3 separate regions of the Homo sapiens genome follow, and all the other regions are linked to region 2. The links are contacts of gene promoters, found by promoter capture Hi-C in blood cells and fetal thymus (Javierre and others, 2016). All regions are on one chromosome and are shown on one strand. Each heading gives the region's core, a stretch centred on a gene start or on the middle of the fragment in contact. The rest is flanking DNA. Distances are from core to core; before and after follow the strand shown.

Region 1 (3,104 bases), core at 31-2,530, 180 kb after region 2:
AAGGTGAAACCCCATCTCTACTAAAAATACAAAAATTAGCCAGGTGTGGTAGCATGTGCCTGTAGTCCCAGGTACTCAGGAGGCTGAGGCAGGAGAATTGCTTGAACCCGGGAGGCAGAGGTTGCAGTGAGCCGAGATTGTGCCACTGCACTCCAGCCTGGTGACAGAGGGAGACTCCATCTCAAAAAAAAAAAAAAAAAAAATTACGTCTTTTCTGAGTAGCACAATTGCTAGATTCTATTTTTATGCAATGATAGTTTTTGGATTTGTATAGGTGAGCTTAATCTGTTTCACTATATTGTGTCTTCCTGTATTAGAACATGTCTCTCCAGGAAAATGTAAGCTTCTTGAGTGTGGGGAGTTTGTTTTACTCGCTACTATATCTCTAGAGCTTGGAACAGTGCTGTACTTATTAGGTACTAAATAAATATCTATTCCTTGTTAATAGTGATTATTGCTATGTTCATTTCTATTATCTTGAATGTTTTCTTTTTACCGTTTTGCTTCTTTTTTTTTGAGATGGAGTCTCGCTCTGTTGCCCAGGCTGGAGTGTAGTGGCACGATCTTGGCTCACTGCAAGCTCCGCCTCCCGGGTTCAAGCAATTCTCCTGTCTCAGCCTCCTGAGTAGCTGGGATTACAGGCACACCCCACCACGCCCAGTTAATTTTTGTATTTTTAATAGAGATGGGGTTTCATCATATTGGTCAGGCTGGTCTCGAACTCCTGACCTCAGGTAATCCGCCAGCCTCAGCTTCCCAAAGTGCTGGGATTACTGGCGTGAGCCACCACGCCCGGCCTATTTTGCTTCTTTATTGTTCTTTTCTGTATTCTGTTGGATTGATAACGTTTTCTTGGCTTCCCTCTGCCCCACTGATGCCTTAGAAGATAAAAATTGTCTTTCTATTCTTTTAATGATTATCCTTAAAAAAGATATATATAAATTTAGCTATAAACTTCCATAAATTATCAGTGTCTCCATCCTCCTCCAAAGTAAGATGAAACCTTCAATATACTTTAACACTCACTGATCATTCCTCTTGAATTCCTTTTAATTAGTTTTTGTGCATGTCTAAAAATGATTTTATTTTTCCCTCACTCTTTTTTTCTTTTTTTTTTTTTTGAGACAGGGTCTTACTCTGTCACCCAGGCTGGAGTGCAGTGGCATGATCTCGTCTCACTGCAGCCTCGACCTCCTGAGCTCAAGCAATCCTCCCACCTCAGCCTTCAGCCTGCTGAGTAGCTGGGATGACAGGCACTCGCCACCCTGCTCAGCTAATTTTTGAGTGTTTCTTTTTGTAAAGGCAGGATCTCCCTCTGTTGCCCAGCTGGTCTTGAACTCCTAGGCACAAGCGATCCTCCCGACTTCAGACTCCCAAAGTGCTAAGATTACAGGCATGAGCCACCACACCCAGCTTTTCCCTCACTCTTGAATGATAGGTAATCACCTGTAATCCCAGCATTTTGGGAGGCCAAGGCAGGTGGATCACCTGAGGTCAGGAGTTCAAGACCAGACTGGCCAATAGGGTGAAACCTTGTCTCTACTAAAAATACAAAAATTAGCTGGGCATGGTGGTGGGCACCTGTAATCCCAGCTACTCAGGAGGCTGAGGCAGGAGAATCGCTTGAACCTAAGAGGCGGAGGTTGCAGTGAGCCAAGATTGTGCCATTGCACTCCAGCCTTGGTGACAAGAGTGAGACTCCATCTCAAAAAAAAAAAAAAAAGAATAGTCTCTGTGGCCTGAAAGAGTGGAGAAAGTAGGAAAGAGTATAACCAGCTGGTTGAAACAACCTCATCAGATAACGGCATGTTCGTAATCCATGGACAGAAATAAAACTCAGACCAAGTCACTGAAAAGGAATAGACATGCTGGGAAATGGGATGAGGAAAGTGAGGAGGATTATAGGGCTCTTTAAAAATTTAGCACACCAGTCTATCAACAGACATTTATCAAAACTCTACTTTGCTACATATTGAATGATTCCATTTACATGAAATTTCTTTAAAAAGGAAAATCTATAAAGACAGAGCACAGATCAGTTGTTGTTTGGGGGTAAGAGCAGTGATTGACTACAAACAGGTACAAGGAAACTTTGTGGGGTATTGGAAATGTTCTAAAATTGCATTGCAGTGATCTTCACACAACTGCATAGATTTATTAAAAATCACTGTGCACTTAAATTGGGCAAATTTTCTGGTATGTAAATTATACCTCAATAAAGCTTAAAAATGCTATTGCATGGCTAGCCATATGGAAGGTGCTAATGTGTGAGTAATGAGAACTAACTATAACATCCTAAGAATGGAACTGAAGGGGTTACAGCAATTCGTGGAGATGAAAATTTAGTAAAGTAGACATGTCTATTTTTGCCTCCATTTTCATATTTCTTTCTAAAGAACTTAGTTTGACAATACCTATAGAATGGCAGAGCTTTACGTTACACAAAGTCCCATCCTTCTGGCTGAATGGACCAGGGATGAGCATCTGATTCAGGTTAGATCAATCAGATTCTCTCTTTCTCTGGAATTTGGAATTAGGAAATGAAAAATAGAGCCAGCCATATGGTACCAAGTGCTTTATTAGAAAGGCAATGTAGAATGGGAGTGTAGGGTGCCATAGCAAACTGAAGGCTTTATTTAGTAAGCATTAGTATAGAGAAAACCATAAGTCCTATAACATTAGTATAGAGAAAAACCATGAGTAAGCCAAAAAAAAAAAAGTTATCCATAAAAAAAAAAAAAGGAAAGCTGAGAAGATGAACAGAGATAAGTAGAGATCAGAGACAAGGTGGGCCCACAAGAGAAAACCAGAGTGGCTTCAACAATCAGCTGCTCCATGTCAGTCCCCAGGAGGCTTGACTGAACTTTTGGTCCTGGTGGTTAGATTGTTCATTAAGCAATATACCCCCTCGGGTGGATGTGGTATATTAGTGCTCAACCTGTATTCTAAGCTCGTTTTAGTGTACCCTCTACTACAGAGACTGGAAAGATAGAAATAACATTTTTTTAGACTTTCTTAGAATTAAGATTTTATATCCAAATTAGGTTCCACCAATTAGAAGCACTCATGGGTGGTTGGGAAAGCAGAAGTTGGGCAGAGATTGT
Region 2 (3,196 bases), core at 317-2,816:
CTGACTCATTCTGATTACCAGCTCTGCCCTGACTCATCCTGATCACCTGCTCCACCCTCACTCCCGCCAAACCACTCACCCCGTCACTCTCTCTAAATTAGCCAATTGGAATTAGTTTAGCCTGTGCGGTCTAACACTAGCCAATAGGGGAACGACACAGCAGCAGGGGCCACGTGTGTCAGGAATAAGAACCCCTTCCCCTCCCTTGTCCAAGTGTGTGCTCACCATTGCTCCATATGTAAGGGTGCACCCTTCTATAGAAGTATATTGCCTTGCTAAGAATTAAAAAGAAAATTTTATATTTGAGTGCTATTTCTTTTGCGGCACCGAAACTATAACAGTACCCAATCACCTAGTCTCTAAGGGAGAAATGGACAAATGCATAATCATGGTAGGAGATTTAACACACCTCTTAAAAAAAAAACAGAATAAGCAGAAAAAAAGTCTGTAAGGATATAGACGACTGTAAAAGTTGATTAACTAGTCTTAACATTTATAGAACACTGTACTCAACAAATGCAGAGTGTACTTTAAAATGGACATGGAATATTTATCAAAAATCACAATTGGTTTTAATAAACCTTGACATCTTAAGAATATATCTTCTGACTACAGTGCAATTTAACTGGAAATCAGTAAGAAAAACAAATTGCACATTTGGGAATTAAACACACAGAAACCTACGCATGGTCAAAGAAAAATCACAATGGAAATGAGAAAAAAACTTTCAGTTGGTTAATGATGAAACTACTGCATATATATAGAACTTGGTGTGACTAATTGCAAATACTGGGGTGTCCAAGGGCAGACGTTATGAACAAAAAGCTCTATGGGAGGATGGTAAGCTGCTTGGATATCGAATAAAAGGCAGCTTTTTAACCAGAATAATTACCACCACCATTGTCTACACACCTGCAGATACTTTGTGTCTAAGCACCAGCCAGCGTAGCCACGTTTACATGAAAATTCCTAATATTTAAGGGGAGATCGAGAAACACTGTTTCCTTCCCAGAGCTCTTCTCTGAATTCTACACTCATATATCCGACAGGCTACTGAAATCTCCATTTGGATTTCTCACAGGCACCTCAAAAGTAATATGTCCAAAACTGAACCCCTGATGTTTTTTCCCTCTAAAATCGATTCCTCCTGCAATCTGTCCCATCTCAGTAAAGGTCACCGCCATTCCCCAGCTCATGAGATCAAAACCCAAGGGTTGCCGCCCAGGATTGGCATAGTCGAAGCTGATTTTTATCCCCTTCGCCATTAACAACTAGAAAACTAGAAAATACACGAAGCCGCTACTGTCAGATACTGAACAGGAGGTCCAGGCCCGTAATCCTCGAGAGGGGACACAAACGACCCGACAGAGTGAGCGAACAACGTCAAAGGGCCTCAAGTTTGGCCGCCGACTAATAATACTAATAGAACTTCCTGCTTCTGGTGCTGCTTAGGGAGGAAGCACGGAACTGGGCACATTTACTTACCGAGACTTCCCAGTCCCAACCCAAATCCAATCTTCACGCCTGAGGAGACCAGCGTCTCTTAAGATGGACGCCTGGCTGGAAGGGCAGCCCGAGGGAGGCGGGGCGGGAGGGGGCGGCCTGGCGGGGCTGTGGGCGTGGTCAAGGACACCCCGTGCCAGAGCAAGGCTGAAGCTAAGGCCAGACCCCCAGCCTTGGCTCAGAGCCCCACCTTTTAAATGTCCGGTAAGGTATGCTCTCTTTGTTTTTGGTTTGGTTTGGTTCTTACAAAAAGAACTTGACTGTTTAAGTTTAGTCCTTGTTAATAACTTAGTTCAAGCATTACCAATTTTTTGTATCCCAGTTATTCATAAAATTGCCATATATATATATACATCTATCTATATATTTATATATTTTTTAAGAGACGGGGTCTTGTCGCCCAGTCTGGGCCTCAAACTTGGGCTCAAGCAGCCTCCTGCCTCAGCCTGAAGAGTAGCTGGGACTACAGCCCTGTGCCCCCCAGCCACCACGCCCAGGCTACCTCTTTATTTTATTTTATTTTTAACTATTTTTTCTGCCTTTTTAAAACAAATTTTTAATTTTTATGGGTACATAATAAGTGTATTATTTATACAACTCATAGTAGGAATACATGAGATATTCTGATAAAGGTATACAATGTGTAAGAATCACATCAGGAGGCCAGGCACAGTGGCTCACGCCTGTAATCCCAGCAGTTTGGGAGGCCGAGGCAGGTGGATCACCTGAGGTCAGGAGTTCGAGACCAGCCAGGCCAACATGATGAAACCCTGTCTCTACTAAAATACAAAAAAATTAGCCGGGCACAGTGGTGGATTCCTGTAATCCCAGCTACTCAGGAGGCTGAGGCAGGAGAATCACTTGAACCTGGGAGGCAGAGGTTGTAGTGAGCCGAGATAGCACCACTGCACTCCAACCTGGGCAACAAGAGTGAAACTCCATCTAAAAAAAAAAAAGAATCACATCAGGTACACTGAGTATCCATCACCTAAGCATTTATCATTTCTTTGGGTTATGAACGTTCCAGTTACACTCTTAGTTATTTTTAAAAATGTTCAATAAATAATTGCTGACTGTAGTCGCCTTGTTGTGCTGTCAAATATTAGATCCTATTTATTCTAACTATATATCTGTTGTACCCAGTAACCATCCCCACTTTGCCTTACCTTTTTTAAACCAGTTTCAACCACTCAAAGGGCCACAAATGGGCCTGTTTTCGCTTTTGTTTGTTTAATCTTTGATTCCTCTAGCCATTTCTCTGACTCTGACCTCGTTCCTGAGCTCTAGACCTTTATCTCCAACTGCCAGCCACTGGCCTTCAATCTGGCCGTCCTGCTGCAGACACCTCAAACTCAGTAAACCCTAACTTAAATTCATTATCTTTCCCTTCATGTCTGCTCCATCTTCTATGGCTCTAAATCACTAAATGACAAGATGTGAAACAGATGTCTCATCCTCAACTCCTCCTATTCCTTTGCAACCCCCCAACCCTCCACCTTACACAGAGTGACCAAATTCTGCTTATTAGGATACTTCCTATTTCGCCTAGTCATTATCTTATTGCATTTCAATGCCCACTAGGCCCTAATCATCTCAGTACATGCCAACCCAGCTTAATACCGCTACGTTAAGGTAGACTGCAGCAGACTCCCAAAGCGCCTCACTGTTTCCAGTTTACCTCTCCCAAAATCTA
Region 3 (2,742 bases), core at 235-2,734, 220 kb after region 2:
ACTCCAGCCTGGGCAACAAAACCGAAACTCCACCTCAAAAAAAAAAAAATGTGTCAGGAGGCGGGTGGTGCATGTACTCCTTATCATAAACCGAATGTTAAGGTGCAGCTGTGGAATTGAGTCCTCCTCCAACAAGGGAAAGAAAAGGATGTCTTGTGACACACCCAGATAGCTAGTGGTGATAGTTATGCTTGCCAAGATTTGGGTGCATGGGGCTTGGCTTGGTTAGCTCCCTTGATCTTACTTTCCCAAAAAGGAAACCTCCAGGGCATCCTATTTATTCCCATCACCTGGCAGGATTTGCAGGATAATTGCTCAGAACTAGAATATTGATCCGGATTTCTACATTACCCATCCCTTTTGTTCTTTCTGAGCTGCAGCCAGAGATTGCTGGATGGTTCACAGGAATAAGCAGGGTTAGCCGAAAATGTAGGCAAAAACTTAAAAACACCTAATGAGTCTAGAATCTAATGACGATGAGATTTGAAACATAATTTCACTCTCTAGTCCTCATTTTCATTAAAAACAAATTATGATAGGATTGCATTGTTTGCAAAATAGACTTTAGTCTTATACTTGGTCAGATTATTTGCATAAAGTGCAGCAAGAATAATTATTTCTACATAGACCTTTTAGATTGGCTTTAATGGAACTCTGTTCCACAAGGAATCTCAGATAAGACCTTTTAAAGCCAGGCCAGCGATGGGTTTGTATCCTCAAATACCTGCAAGTTGAATAAACTTCTCTTTTCTTGAGGTCCCAAGAACATGTGGTTCCTGGGCCTGCTGGAAAGTAACATTCTTTACTCACCACAGGTTAGGAATCCTGCATGGGGACTGTGTAGACAAGGGTGTGAGATCAGGTTTCCCAAGGAGCTTTTCTTAGTTCTGCAAGTTGAGCTTGACTCCTTAAAGGGAAGCACATACCCTTCCAGTCAAAGCCTTAGTAAGACAACCAGTTTCTCCAATTGCATCCTGTTGTGAACATCACTAATCATTGGAGAAATGCAGATCAAAACCACAATGAGATACCATCTCACACCAGTCAGAATGGCTATTACCAAAAAGTCAAAAAATAAAAGATGTTGAGGCTGCAGAGAAAAGGAAATGCTTATACACTGTGTTAGTGGGAATGTAAATTTATTCAGCCACTGTGGAAAACAATTTGGAGATTTCTCAAAGAACTAAAAATAGAACTCTCATTTGACCCAGAAATCCTATCACTGGACATATATCCAAAGGAAAATTAATTATTCTACCAAAAAAACACATGCACTCATATGTTCATCATAGCACTGTCCACAATAGCAAAGACATGAAATCAACCTAGGTGCCCATCAATGGTGGATTAGATAAAGAAAATGCCATACATATACACTATGGAATATGACACAGCCATAAAAAATTACAAAATCATGTTCTCTGCAGCAGCACACATGGAGCTGGAGGCCATTATCCTAAGCCAATTAATGCAGAATGGAAAGTCAAACACCACATGTTCTCACTTACAAGTGGGAGCGAAACACTGGGTACACATGGACATAAAGATGGGAACAATAGACACTTCAGGCTACTAGACAGCTGAGAGAGGGAAAGGGGCAAGGGTGGAAAAACTACTTGTTGGGTACTATGCTCACTACCTGGGTGATGGGGTCAGTTATACCCCAAACCTCAGCATCACGCAATATATCCATGGAATAAACGTGCACATGTACCCCTGAATCTAAAATAATAGTTGAAAAATTTTTTAAAAGGTTCTTATCCTTAAGAGATACATACTAAAATATATAATATCTCAGATTTATGTCAAAATAATGCAGTGGTCAAGGAGAGGGAAGGATATAAATAAAACAATTTTTGGCTAAGAGTTGTTAATTATTGAAGCTGGATGATGGGCACATGAGGGTTTATCATTCTATGCTTTCTACTTTTTTTTTTTTTTTTTGAGACAAAGCCTCACTCTGTTGCCTAGGCTGGAGTGCAGTGACGCGATCTCAGCTCACCACAACCTCCACCTCCCAGATTCAAGCGATTTTCCTGCCTCAGCCTCCCGAGTAGCTGGGACTACAGGCACACGCCACCATGTCTGGCTAATTTTTGTATTTTTAGTAGAGACGGGGTTTCACTATGTTGGCCAGGCTGGTCTCAAACTCCTGACCTCGTGATCCTCCCGCCTTGACCTCCCAAAGTGCTGGGATTACAGGCATAAGCCACCACACCCGGCCTCTTCATACTTTTAAAATATGCATTAATATATATGCATTTTTCCATAATAAAAAGTTTTTCAAAATGAGAATTTAAAAAATATAATGACAGTGAAGTGGCAATGGAAGTGTTAAATTTTTCAATCTGGTGAAGCTCCAGTTTCTCAGTGTCACGTTTGGACCAGATCACGGCCTTGTGTAATCTGGCTGCACCTTGCCAGTGTCTGTGGACATCAACAACAGCAAATCTTTACTGAGATCCTTCTGTGTGTCAAGTCCAATCAGAGAGAAAGGTTCTTTTACAGCAATAGAGAGACACAGAGAGATGTGCAATGTACTGGTAATAAAAATAGGAGAATGAAATCATTGTTCCCACAGAAAGGCCCCAATGAGTCTTCCAAAATAAACGCATATTATTTATGTAATTTTTCAAATACACCTTTATCAAGAAAAGAATAAAACATCGTTGGATCATGGCATATTGCTGTTTAAAATGATCCATTAATGTTCTAATTGTCATCAGGACAAAGGCCCATAAC

Evidence for each region. Contacts are between HindIII fragments. The CHiCAGO score rates a contact against its expected background, and 5 or more counts as called.
Region 1: a contact is called between a fragment that was not itself captured here and the fragment with the promoter of GDPD4 in region 2, in 1 of 17 cell types (endothelial precursors). The highest score is 5.1, in endothelial precursors.
Region 3: a fragment that was not itself captured here is called in contact with the fragment with the promoter of GDPD4 in region 2 in 1 of 17 cell types (M2 macrophages); the score reaches 5.5 in M2 macrophages.

The regions. Positions count from the first base shown.
Region 1 is chr11:77,481,491-77,484,594 of GRCh38, forward strand. It overlaps a transcript of PAK1 not described here. Among named protein-coding and RNA genes, the nearest start is that of PAK1, 8.9 kb to the left of the region's middle. The HindIII fragment of the contact is 1,878 bases long and covers 342-2,219 here.
Region 2 is chr11:77,300,120-77,303,315 of GRCh38, forward strand. It overlaps GDPD4 (glycerophosphodiester phosphodiesterase domain containing 4), which reads right to left and starts at 1,567. Exons shown (of 17, transcript NM_182833.3): 1 at 1,486-1,567. The HindIII fragment of the contact is 12,830 bases long and covers 1-3,196 here.
Region 3 is chr11:77,521,494-77,524,235 of GRCh38, forward strand. It overlaps a transcript of PAK1 not described here. Among named protein-coding and RNA genes, the nearest start is that of LINC03030, 48 kb to the right of the region's middle. The HindIII fragment of the contact is 3,525 bases long and covers 1-2,742 here.